Regions from separate parts of the Homo sapiens genome. Here all the other regions are linked to region 3. The links are contacts of gene promoters, found by promoter capture Hi-C in human tissues and cell types (Jung and others, 2019). All regions are on one chromosome and are shown on one strand. The core of a region is centred on a gene start or on the middle of the fragment in contact, and the rest is flanking DNA. Distances in the headings are between cores, read along the strand shown.

The links. The method cuts DNA at HindIII sites, captures the fragments that hold promoters and counts their contacts. A contact is called where the count stands out against the background at its distance.
Region 1: a contact is called between a fragment that was not itself captured here and the fragment with the promoter of ALX1 in region 3, in 3 of the 25 tissues and cell types used here (H1 embryonic stem cells, bladder and spleen).
Region 2: a contact is called between a fragment that was not itself captured here and the fragment with the promoter of ALX1 in region 3, in 3 of the 25 tissues and cell types used here (H1 embryonic stem cells, mesendoderm cells and thymus).

Annotation. Positions count from the first base shown.
Region 1 is chr12:85,336,728-85,340,348 of GRCh38, forward strand. The region is part of intron 1 of LINC02820 (long intergenic non-protein coding RNA 2820); the gene reads left to right. Among named protein-coding and RNA genes, the nearest start is that of LINC02820, 21 kb to the left of the region's middle. The HindIII fragment of the contact is 5,488 bases long and covers 1-3,621 here.
Region 2 is chr12:85,226,184-85,229,922 of GRCh38, forward strand. It overlaps LRRIQ1 (leucine rich repeats and IQ motif containing 1), which reads left to right. Exons shown (of 27, transcript NM_001079910.2): 25 at 3,334-3,466. Among named protein-coding and RNA genes, the nearest start is that of ALX1, 52 kb to the right of the region's middle. The HindIII fragment of the contact is 3,366 bases long and covers 1-3,192 here.
Region 3 is chr12:85,278,931-85,282,347 of GRCh38, forward strand. It overlaps ALX1 (ALX homeobox 1), which reads left to right and starts at 1,290. Exons shown (of 4, transcript NM_006982.3): 1 at 1,290-1,557. The coding sequence starts at 1,332. RefSeq lists a silencer at 1,381-1,675. The HindIII fragment of the contact is 12,363 bases long and covers 1-3,417 here.

The sequences.
Region 1 (3,621 bases), core at 756-3,255, 59 kb after region 3:
AAGCTCCGGCCGGGCACGGTGGCTCACGCCTGTAATCCCAGGACTTTGGGAGGCCGAGGCGGGTGGATCACGAGGTCAGGAGATCGAGACCAACCTGGCTAACACAGTGAAACCCCGTCTGTACTAAAAATACAAAAAATTAGCTGGGCGTGGTGGTGGGCGCCTGTAGTCCCAGTTGCTCGGGAGGCTGAGGCAGGAGAATGGCATGAACCCGTGAGGCGGAGGTTGCAGTGAGCCGAGATCGCGCCACTGCACTCCAGCCTGGGTGACAGAGCAAGACTCCGTCTCAAAAAAAAAAAAAAAAAAAAAGAAAGAAAGAAAGAAAGAAAAATAAGCTCCATGATAAACAGAATGAAAGTAATGTTACTAGGTATTTTTTGTTTCCTTAAGTCTAGAGTTTCTGCATAGTTCCCATAATATAGTTATTAAGGGCACAGGTTCTGGGGTCAGCATACCTGGATATGACCCACTTACTATTTCTATGATGTTAGATGTTACTCTCCTCTTTGCTTCCATTCCCTTACCCAATATTATAAAACTAGCTTAATAATACTCCACAGAGTAAATTTTTATGCTTTCCTACTACGTTAATACATATAAAGTGTTTAAAATAGTACCTACACAGAATAGGTAGTCAATAAATTTAGCTAATAGAATTATTTAGACAGAACAAGGATTTATATTCTTATCTTACTTGTAAGTACAGAATTCAAAATAGGGCTGTAAGAAATTTTCCTCATATAACTTACATTTCTGTATCTTATATAAATCTGTTTTGTCTTTGCATTTTACACGTCGATCAGCATAAAAACCAAACTAGAGATTAATATAGTAGATCTACAGTATTTAATTTCTTATAATTTACATATTACATTTTAATAATAAAAGCAAATAAATATCAAAACATTAATGTTCTTATGATCAAGGACATTCCACTCTACCTTTAAAAAAATTTAATACCTGCTGTTTCCTGCTACATTGTATGCTATAAGTTTGACGGGTATTGACTCAAAGCATCTTTTTCATAATTCCCAAAACCAAAAACTTAGACAATGAGTTTTTTTTTGTAATCTACTTGATAGAAAAACTCAATATGATAAAAAACAATTTGATTATAAAACATGCTCCGAAATAACATGATAATTATAGTCTTTTTTGTTAACTCAGTATAAATGCTTACATGTGTATGTCAGAATGAGCTAGGTTATGCTGTAGTAACAAACAACCCTCAAATCTAGGGGCTTAGAACAACGTGTCCACTATGGTTTGACATAGTCACCTAAGAAGCTAGGTTGATAGACTGCCCGTCACAAATGCTGCTGGCTGTCATGTCAGAGGAGTAGAGAAAGCTCTGGATGATTTTTCATTAATAATTGATACTTGAACTTAGAAATGACACCATGATTCCACTGACAACCAGAACTAGTTACATGGCTCCTCCCCAACACAAGAAGTATAATCCTACTGGGTGTCTAGTAGGGAAGAGAAATATAAATATTTGGTAAATAGCGCTAATGATTAGTATATTATATTTCACTGCAGAAATATTACTATGGTGATTTTATATTTAAGACCCAGAAAACTGTTGTCATCTTGTATATTATATATCATAAATTCCATACAATTTTTATAAAATCTGAAATGTTTTCATTCCAACAAGACAATCTTTTCAGATATGAAATTAAGAATTAATTCTATGTTGAGTTCTAGGGACCCAAGGAAAAATTAGACATGGTCTCTACTTGGTAGAACTCAGAGTCCAGTGAGAGAGTAAGGCATGTAGCCAAAACTTTCAAAGGAATGCATAATGTATTACATTAGAGGTCTGATGGGAGTGTGATTGCAGTACAGAGGAGGGAGTGAAGAGATAGGCCTGATCTAAATAGAATGACTTCATAGGTATTGCATTTAAGCTAGGATTTGATGCATGGTAAGCATTGAGGGTATAATTAGCATTTCTGATATATTTTAATTAACTTTTTATTGGCAGACTCTATGTTTTGTTTATACAATATGTACATATTTTTTATTGTATATGCAATGTTTGGGGTGCAATAAATATGATGGTGGTTCCATGATAGAGAAAGATAAGTTTGGGAAAAGCGTTACGCCCCATCATGAGGGAATTGGGCATGCTGTAGGAAAGGAGTTTTAGACCAGGCACGGTGGCTCATGCCTGTAGTCCCAGCACTTTGGGAGGCTGAGGCGGGCGGATCACCTGAGGTCCAGAGTTCGAGACCAGCCTGACCAACATGGAGAAACCTCGTCTGTACTAAAAATACAAAATTAGCCAGGTGTAGTGGTGCATGCCTGTAATCCCAGCTACTCGGGAGACTGAGGCAGGAGAATCGCTTGAACCAGGGAGGTGGAGGTTGCGGTGAGCCGCGATCATGCCATTGCACTCCAGCCTGGGAAACAAGAGCAAAACTCCATCTAAAACAAACAAACAAACAAACAAACAAAATTAATGTTATTCTGAGGGTAAAGATAATCAACTAAGTTTTTAAAGAAGGAACATAAAATGTTCTGTGCTTTCTGAAGGTCCTTTTGTGCCAGAGGATCAATGTAGGAATGTCAAACTCATTAGAAAAAGTGATTTATGAAAAGAGAAGTAAATTATACTGTTTTTATATTTCAGTTGTTTTAGTAATGTCTTTTCAATATAGTGTGTATATTCAATATTAAACCTAGCTGAGAACTCAAATCTTAAACATCGATGTGCTTGTCTGAACAGAAGGTTATACAGAGGAATTCCTCATGTTGATGTTTAGGTAGGTTGACTACAACTTTTCCTTATGCATGTTGCATTCCTGGAGTCCTATCGAGTGTCAAATACATTTTGCCACTGTCATTCTTCTGTATTTTAATTCTTGAAATATGTGAATAGCATATGATGGATAAATTTTGTACAATAAGTCATGTATACACCTCCTTAAAAACCACAGCTGTACTTGCATCAATACTTGAAGTGAAATTGCAGGAAAATCTCTGAAATGAGGAAAACATAAAAAATTGAACAGTTTACATTTATAGAAAAAATACTTCATTTAGAAAAATATATGAACTACTTAAGAAATATTGAAGTCAAAATTTGTATTATATTTTGCACATTGTATATAGTTATAGCATTTATAAAATGTATGATTCAATAAGATGATATGTTACTAACATATTGAGATTATTTTAAAGTATATACCAGCCTATATATTTTTTAATAATACATAATGTATAAAACACTTTTCTATACATTCAGGTCAGTTACTAAGCATAAAATCATTGAGGTAGTAAAAGGGTAAATTATGTTGCATCTTTATCACACAGACATCAGTTGAACAGTTTATTGCAGTTAACCAATGAAATAAAACTAACCAATATAAAAATACTATGATATGACTTTTTATTGCAGAAAACATTATAGAAGACCTTACTTTAATGAAAAAAAGTGACTTTTTGGGGAAAGTGGTAGTTTACTATCTATGAAATAGAATTTCCTTTCTACTTGTTTCATTCTATAGGCCAACATGAAATGGAATAATGAGATGAATTAGAATTTGTATTGAAATGCATATGAATTGAATGCCTGGTTTTGCTACTTATTAACTATAGCCTTGAGTGAGTTGG
Region 2 (3,739 bases), core at 260-2,759, 53 kb before region 3:
GAGTACTTTAAAAAGTGACCATTGCAAGTATATGTCACTATTTTTAAGAACAGGAAGACTGAGATTATTTCTGTTTTAACTAAAAGTTTGCTTATTACAAAAGGATTCTCTCCATATCAGGAGTAGGTGAGTTTCAAGTCTTGGGCTCAGTTGATCATCAGGGTCACTGAGTCATCACTGTTTTCTGTCACTGTGCTGTCCAACATCTGGCCTGGTCACTAAGGAAACCAGATCAGTAGCTGGGGTTTTGCTAGAAAGGAGACCCAATGCAGTGTGTAGCAATGCCAAATCTTCCCTTTGTTTGAGTGTGTCTTATAACTTTTGTATAATTATTTTTTTTCTACTTCCTTTTTTTTTTTTTTTTTACTTTAAGTTCTAGGGTACATGTGCACAACGTGCAGGTTTGTTACATATGTATACATGTGCCATGTTGGTGTGCTGCACCCATTAACTCGTCATTTACATTAGGTATATCTCCTAATGCCATCCCTCCCCCCTCCCCCCACCCCCCAGCAGGCCCCGGTGTGTGATATTCCCCATCTTTTCCATGTGTTCCCATTGTTCAATTCCCACCTATGAGTGAGAACATGCGGTGTTTGGTTTTCTGTCCTTGTGATAGTTTGCTCAGAATGATGGTTTCCAGCTGCATCCATGTCCCTATAAAGGACATGAACTCATCCTTTTTTATGGCTGCATAGTATTCCATGGTGTATATGTGCCACATTTTCTTAATCCAGTCTATCATTGATGGACATTTGGATTGGTTCTAAGTCTTTGCTATTGGGAATAGTGCCACAATAAACATACATGTGCATGTGTCTTTATAGCAGCATGATTTATAATCCTTTGGGTATATGCCCAGTAATGGGATGTCTGGGTCAAATGGTATTTCAAATGGTATTTCTAGTTCTAGATCCTTGAGGAATCGCCACACTGTCTTCCACAATGGTTGAACTAGTTTACAGTCCCACCAACAGTGTAAAAGTGTTCCTATTTCTTCACATCCTCTCCAGCACCTGTTGTTGCCTGACTTTTTAATGATCACCATTCTAACTGGTGTGAGATGGTATCTCATTGTGGTTTTGATTTGCATTTCTTTTTTTTTATATACTGTAAGTTTTAGGGTACATGTGCACAATGTGCAGGTTTGTTACATATGTATACATGTGCCATGTTGGTGTGCTGCACCCATTAACTCGTCATTTAGTATTAGGTAGATTTGCATTTCTCTGATGGCCAATGATGATGAGCATTTTTTCATTTGTCTATTGGCTGCATAAATGTCTTCTTTTGAGAAGTATCTGTTCATATCCTTCGCCCACTTTTTGATGGGGTTGTTTGATTTTTTCTTGTAAATTTGTTTAAGTTCTCATGAATAGGAAGAATCAGTATCGTGAAAATGGCCATACTGCCCAAGGTAATTTATAGATTCAATGCCATCCCCATCAAGCTACCAATGACTTTCTTCACAGAAATGGAAAAACCTACTTTAAAGTTCATATGGAACCAAAAAAGAGCCCGCATTGCCAACACAATCCTAAGCCAAAAGAACAAAGCTGGAGGCATCACGCTACCTGACTTCAAACTATACTACAAGGCTACAATAACCACAACAGCATGGTACTGGTACCAAAACAGAGATATAGACTAATGGAACAGAATAGAGCCCTCAGCAATAATACCACACATCTACAACCATCTGATCTTTGACAAACCTGACAAAAACAAGAAATGGGGAAAAGATTCCCTATTTAATAAATGATGCTGGGAAAACTGGCTAGCAATATGTGGAAAGCTGAAACTGGATCCCTTCCTTACACCTTATACAAAAATCAATTCAAGATGGATTAAAGACTTAAATATTAGACCTAAAACCATAAAAACCTTAGAAGAAAACCTTGGCAATACCATTCAGGACATAGGCATGGGCAAGGACTTCATGACTAAAACACCAAAAGCAATGGCAACAAAAGCCAAAATTGACCAATGGGATCTAATTAAACTAAACAGCTTCTGCACAGCAAAAGAAACTACCATCAGAGTGAACAGGCAACCTACAGAATGGGAGAAAATTTTTACGATCTACCCATCTGACAAGGGGCTAATATCCAGAATCTACAAAGAACTTTTGTATAATTATAAGGCTATTTATGAAAATGGAGTCTGCTCATGGATTCAATGGCCAATCCCCTCATGTGAAGTAAGTGTTCCTCTAATTGTAGCAACTATGGAAGAGTTGGCCTAAGTTCAGGTTTCAAGGGCTGAAGTCATTTTAGAAACATAAGGTCGCATAAGAAGCAATAGGAACTTTACTAAGTAACAGAGTTTTAGATACCCAAAGCATCCAGATTTTACGCTTTCCAGAGACCTGGCTTCAACATCTGTTTAAATTGAAAACTAGAGTCATTTCACTAATTACAACAGTAACTTTTAAAGAAGAAAGACATGTTAGATATATCATCCACAACATATTCTGAATGACACATGCTAAGCTTGTATGTATGTGTGTCTGCACGTACATGCACAGAGTATTCAAAATAGGTTTTGCACCATGCTTTATTCATTTTCCAAACAACTTGCAAATATGTAGACTTTTTATGTACAAACATCTATAACAAAAGAATATTTCAAAGTAATAAATTGACTTTAAATTTTCAGGTTTTTAAACTACAGAATTGTTCTGAGTTGATTACTGCGATTTAGGTTTTAAGAGGTGTCTCCCTCTGGTGTACTGTCAATCAAGTTTATGAAGCCAACAAGCCCTAAACCAAAAATGGAGCAGTCTAAAAGATCAAGTCCATGGAGGAAGGCTTTAAAACAACTAGTCTTCAGTGTAACTCTGATATGTATGAAATACTATAGTAGCTTACACAAAGCAAGCTCAGTTTTATGTAAATGAAAATTCAGGTTCAAAAACACTCAATATAATTTATAAATTCTCCATATGGATAAGAGTGGTATAAAAACAATTAGACTTTAATCCTGAAAAGACAGATAGGGAACAGATGTTTTTATATTAGAAAAATTCTACAGTCTACCAAAAAATAACTCTCTGATTTTTCTAATTAAAAACTCAAAAACAAACCCTATAAATGGTGATTGATTTTAAGTATTTTTTTCAAAATAGATGGGTTTGAAACCTAAGCAGGAAAAACAGTTAATCTGTGACTGACATTACTTTTCTTACTGACATTAGTTTTCTTACAGATTTAGCTCTCATAAGTTAGTATTTTTTTTTCTTTCTTGTGATAAAATGTTTAGCACAGATGGAACTGGTTGGCCAAAGTTTGGTCTCTTTAAATAATAAGTACACGTTCCATATTTCTTTCACAGGTATAGAAGAAGACCCTATCCACAAAGATACCACTGCAAATGAAAAATTAGAACGGAATAGAGAATATACATACCAATGGCTTCACACACAGGTTGGGGTTCATGAAACGACTAGTTCCAGAAATATGAAATGGTGAGGTCATTTCCTCTAAATTAGATTTTTGTATTGTAAACACATCTTGAAAATTGAAACCTAGGTTAATTGTGCTAAAACAAACATGACTTTATTGCCAAAGGCCAATACGCTACGTTGCCGGGTAATACAAAGGCCTTTCATATAGAATAGATTTAATTACTCCTTCTATTTTTCACCCTGAAATGTTTGGGAACAACTCTATTCTGTAATACTTGAAACCAACAGATGAGCCACAAAAATAATTCTACTCTATAAAGTAAAAAATGTGGT
Region 3 (3,417 bases), core at 40-2,539:
ATTTTGTGCCCAGGGCACCGAACGCATTTCCCCCAAGCGCCGCGGGCTCCTAGGAAGCCAAGAGTCGTGCCAAAAGTCACACAGAAGGGCTTTCAACCTAGCAGTGCTGTCCTGCCTGCCCTACCATCCCCTCTGGTGGAAATGGAGGCCTTGGACCTGTCCGCGCCCAGGACGCCGCGCCGCGAGTGCCCGCAGCTCCGCGCGCTCACCACTCACTCCCAGAGCGCTTTTCGGAGTAACTCCACAGCAACTCTTTAAAATTAAAAGTAATTTCTGTAAAAATATGCAGACATTCCTCTTCTTCATAAACCCCTATTTGTAACAATCCTCACTTTGGCATTAGAGTAAAAGCCTTTCAAAGGCACTGATCCTAACGGGTTTTCTTAAAATAATTTGGGTCTAATGATAAAATCGTGGACCAAAGGGAAGGGTGGCGAAGAGGGTGTAGGGAATTGGTTGGCATTAGTATAATGGCTTCATTGCCTCTTGCTCGGCTTCTCTCTCCCACCCATCGCCACCGCGTCCACACTCCGCCGCATTCCAGAGAAAAAGAAAAGGCCACGGCCTCGTAAAGCTCCCAGCTGGCCCGGACCCCGAGCTCCTCCCGGTTAGAAGCCGAAGCGGCCCCTCTACTACGGCGGCTGCGATTAACAGTTGCCAATGCATCTGGTTCCTTGGGCTTCGGATTAATGTGAATCTTCCACGTAAACGATTTACGGATGAAATAAAAGCCTTTTAGAGCAATATTTCCTTTCAAGTTCTTAAGACGCCTCTAAATCTTTCTGGTAGTGAGTGGCCGGCATGGGGGCGGGGTGGGGACGGGTGGCTCAGGAAGGCGCAGGCAGTAGGGAGTGGAGGTTTAACTGCTTTGCGATCTCACCAAGATCTTCCGAAATGCCAGTCCACTGTCACGGCGGCAATGAATCTGGGTGTCAGGGGCTCGTCTCTCCTGGCATTTGTCTGAAATGGAGCTGTCTGTCTGTCTATCCTAGGCCTGGACGCCCTCTGCCCGGGTAAGTGGGGAAAATGGGGGTGGGGTAGGGGCGGAGGGGGACCTGGGGTGGAGTTAGTCGCCCGCCTATTTTCATATTCATTAGAACTGGGAGGCTGCCCGAGGAGGCCAGCTGAGTTTCAAGATATAAAAGCAACTTCGGGTGCTCCTTTTCCAGCCGGGACGTATTAAAGGGACCGGAGCGGGGCAGTTCCCGACGCCGCAGCGCTCGCTTTCCCTTCCCTCCTCTCTGGCCCTCCCTCCTCCCACCCACTGGCTCCCTCCCCCAGCGCTCTCCAGTTTCTGTGCCCCAGGAGCTACGCGACAGTCTTCCAGGATTATGGAGTTTCTGAGCGAGAAGTTTGCCCTCAAGAGCCCTCCGAGTAAAAACAGTGACTTTTACATGGGCGCAGGAGGTCCTCTGGAGCACGTTATGGAGACGCTGGACAATGAGTCCTTTTACAGCAAAGCGTCTGCAGGCAAATGCGTGCAGGCCTTCGGACCCCTGCCCCGCGCCGAGCATCACGTGCGCTTGGAGAGGACCTCGCCCTGTCAGGACAGCAGCGGTGAGTCGCTAGCGCCCCAGCCGGAGCCGCCGCAGCCCTTCCGCAATCGAAAATGCAGGATCGGTCTGATCAGGCAGGGAGGGAGAAAGGAGAAAAGTGGGAGCGAGGGACCTGGAAGGTGGAGGAAGGTAGTGGAAGGTGCTCGCTTTATGAAGCGGTGTTACTGCTGCTGCAGCCTTTGGGGGCGGAGGGCGGAGGGAGGGAGAGATCCAGCACCGGGTTGCCTCTGAGCGATTCTCCTTTCGCTGTAGGGTCTGGTCGCCTACGGATCCCTGAGTCCTTCTGTAATATTGGTTCCTGGAGTAAACTGATAGGGCGCTAAATAGAGCGTAATTGAGTCAAGACAGAACGCTTCCTCTGCGAGCCCGCCTTGCAGTCCGGGCGGTAGGAACTGAAATCGATCACAGCTCGTTAGAGTACGTCACTGTCGTCACGAGTAGGGAAAAAAAAACCGGAAAACAAAAACAAAAAACAAAAAACCCTTTGAGCTCCTTTAGGTAAAGATAAATCTTTTTAATTTTCCAAGACGTGGCGATATATTTTCAAAGTTTGAGGATCCCTAGATTTCTAGCGTGTGTGAATTTGTAATTTCTGCTTTTTTTTGCGTTTGCAATACAACACGCGTTGAATGTTTGTTAAACACTAAAGCACACTAAATAGCTTCGGGCAAACCATCCCCGGCCTAATCACTCATTCCCAGATTCTACGTTTTGTATTTTTATGACTTCACATTAAAAGTCACCTAAGGAGTCTTTGGAATGCTTCTGGGTGAAATCTTCAACTTTGAATGCCCAAGTATCTCCAAGTCAAAATGTTATCAAAACAAACCATCTATCTTTTCTATCTTGTAACCTAATACTAACCTATTATTTCAGATCGCGACAGCTAAAGCACGTTTACAATTCCAAGAGAACTTCTCCTTATCATTGTATATATTCCACAGTTAAGCTATAAGGGGCGGGTTGCTTTAAAATAACAAACGAATTAAGTGTGAAATATTTACAACAAGCCCCCTGCCCCCTATTTTATAGAAATTCAAAATCTGACAAAACACTGGCCTGTAGAAGCTCATTTTCTAAATATTTTGAACACAAGTTTTTTTCTTTTATTAATCTCATATTTAACTAATTTTATTTAACGTTGCAAGTAACTTTTGACTAAGGGTAAATCAAAAATAAAGGTGCAAATGATAGAGAAAATAATCAGCTAAGTCGTTTCAGTCATTTATTTAGAAAGATTCGAGCGTATACTTTTTGTTATTCTTACACTGAGTTGTTGGTTTTCTGGCTGCGTTTCAGACCTGGTATCTGTATTTGTGGAATTCTTAGGTGCATGCCTAACGTTATTTGAATTGACAGGTCTTTCTTTAATGATTCTGCAATGTCTTGTATTGACTCTGGATGGACTTGATCATAATATTTTATTTTGAATAGTCGAGAATCCAAAATAAGAGACATAATTGATGCGTTATCAACTTTTAAACAAATATCACACTATTAAGATGAATTATAACAAAGAAGTGTTAAGGAAGATGAACATAGGCAGTCATCCGCTTAATTTAGGAGAGATCCTGTCTTTCTCTTGAGATGCCCTTAGCCTCTCTGATGCTTCCCCTCCCCCATCCCTAATTGCTGCAGTTCCCCCTTTAATTTTGCCCAAGGAGATAGAACCGTTTGTTAATCAGTCATGGCTCTTCTTTATATTTGGTTTAACATCACATCTTCGTTTGCATGAAAACCGTTAATTTAAAAAATTTGTTATATATATATATAGACAAATTATAGTTGTATATATTTATGGGGTACAAAGTAATGTTAAGTTTTTTTAATGCAATGTGGAATGATTAAATTACGTTAATTG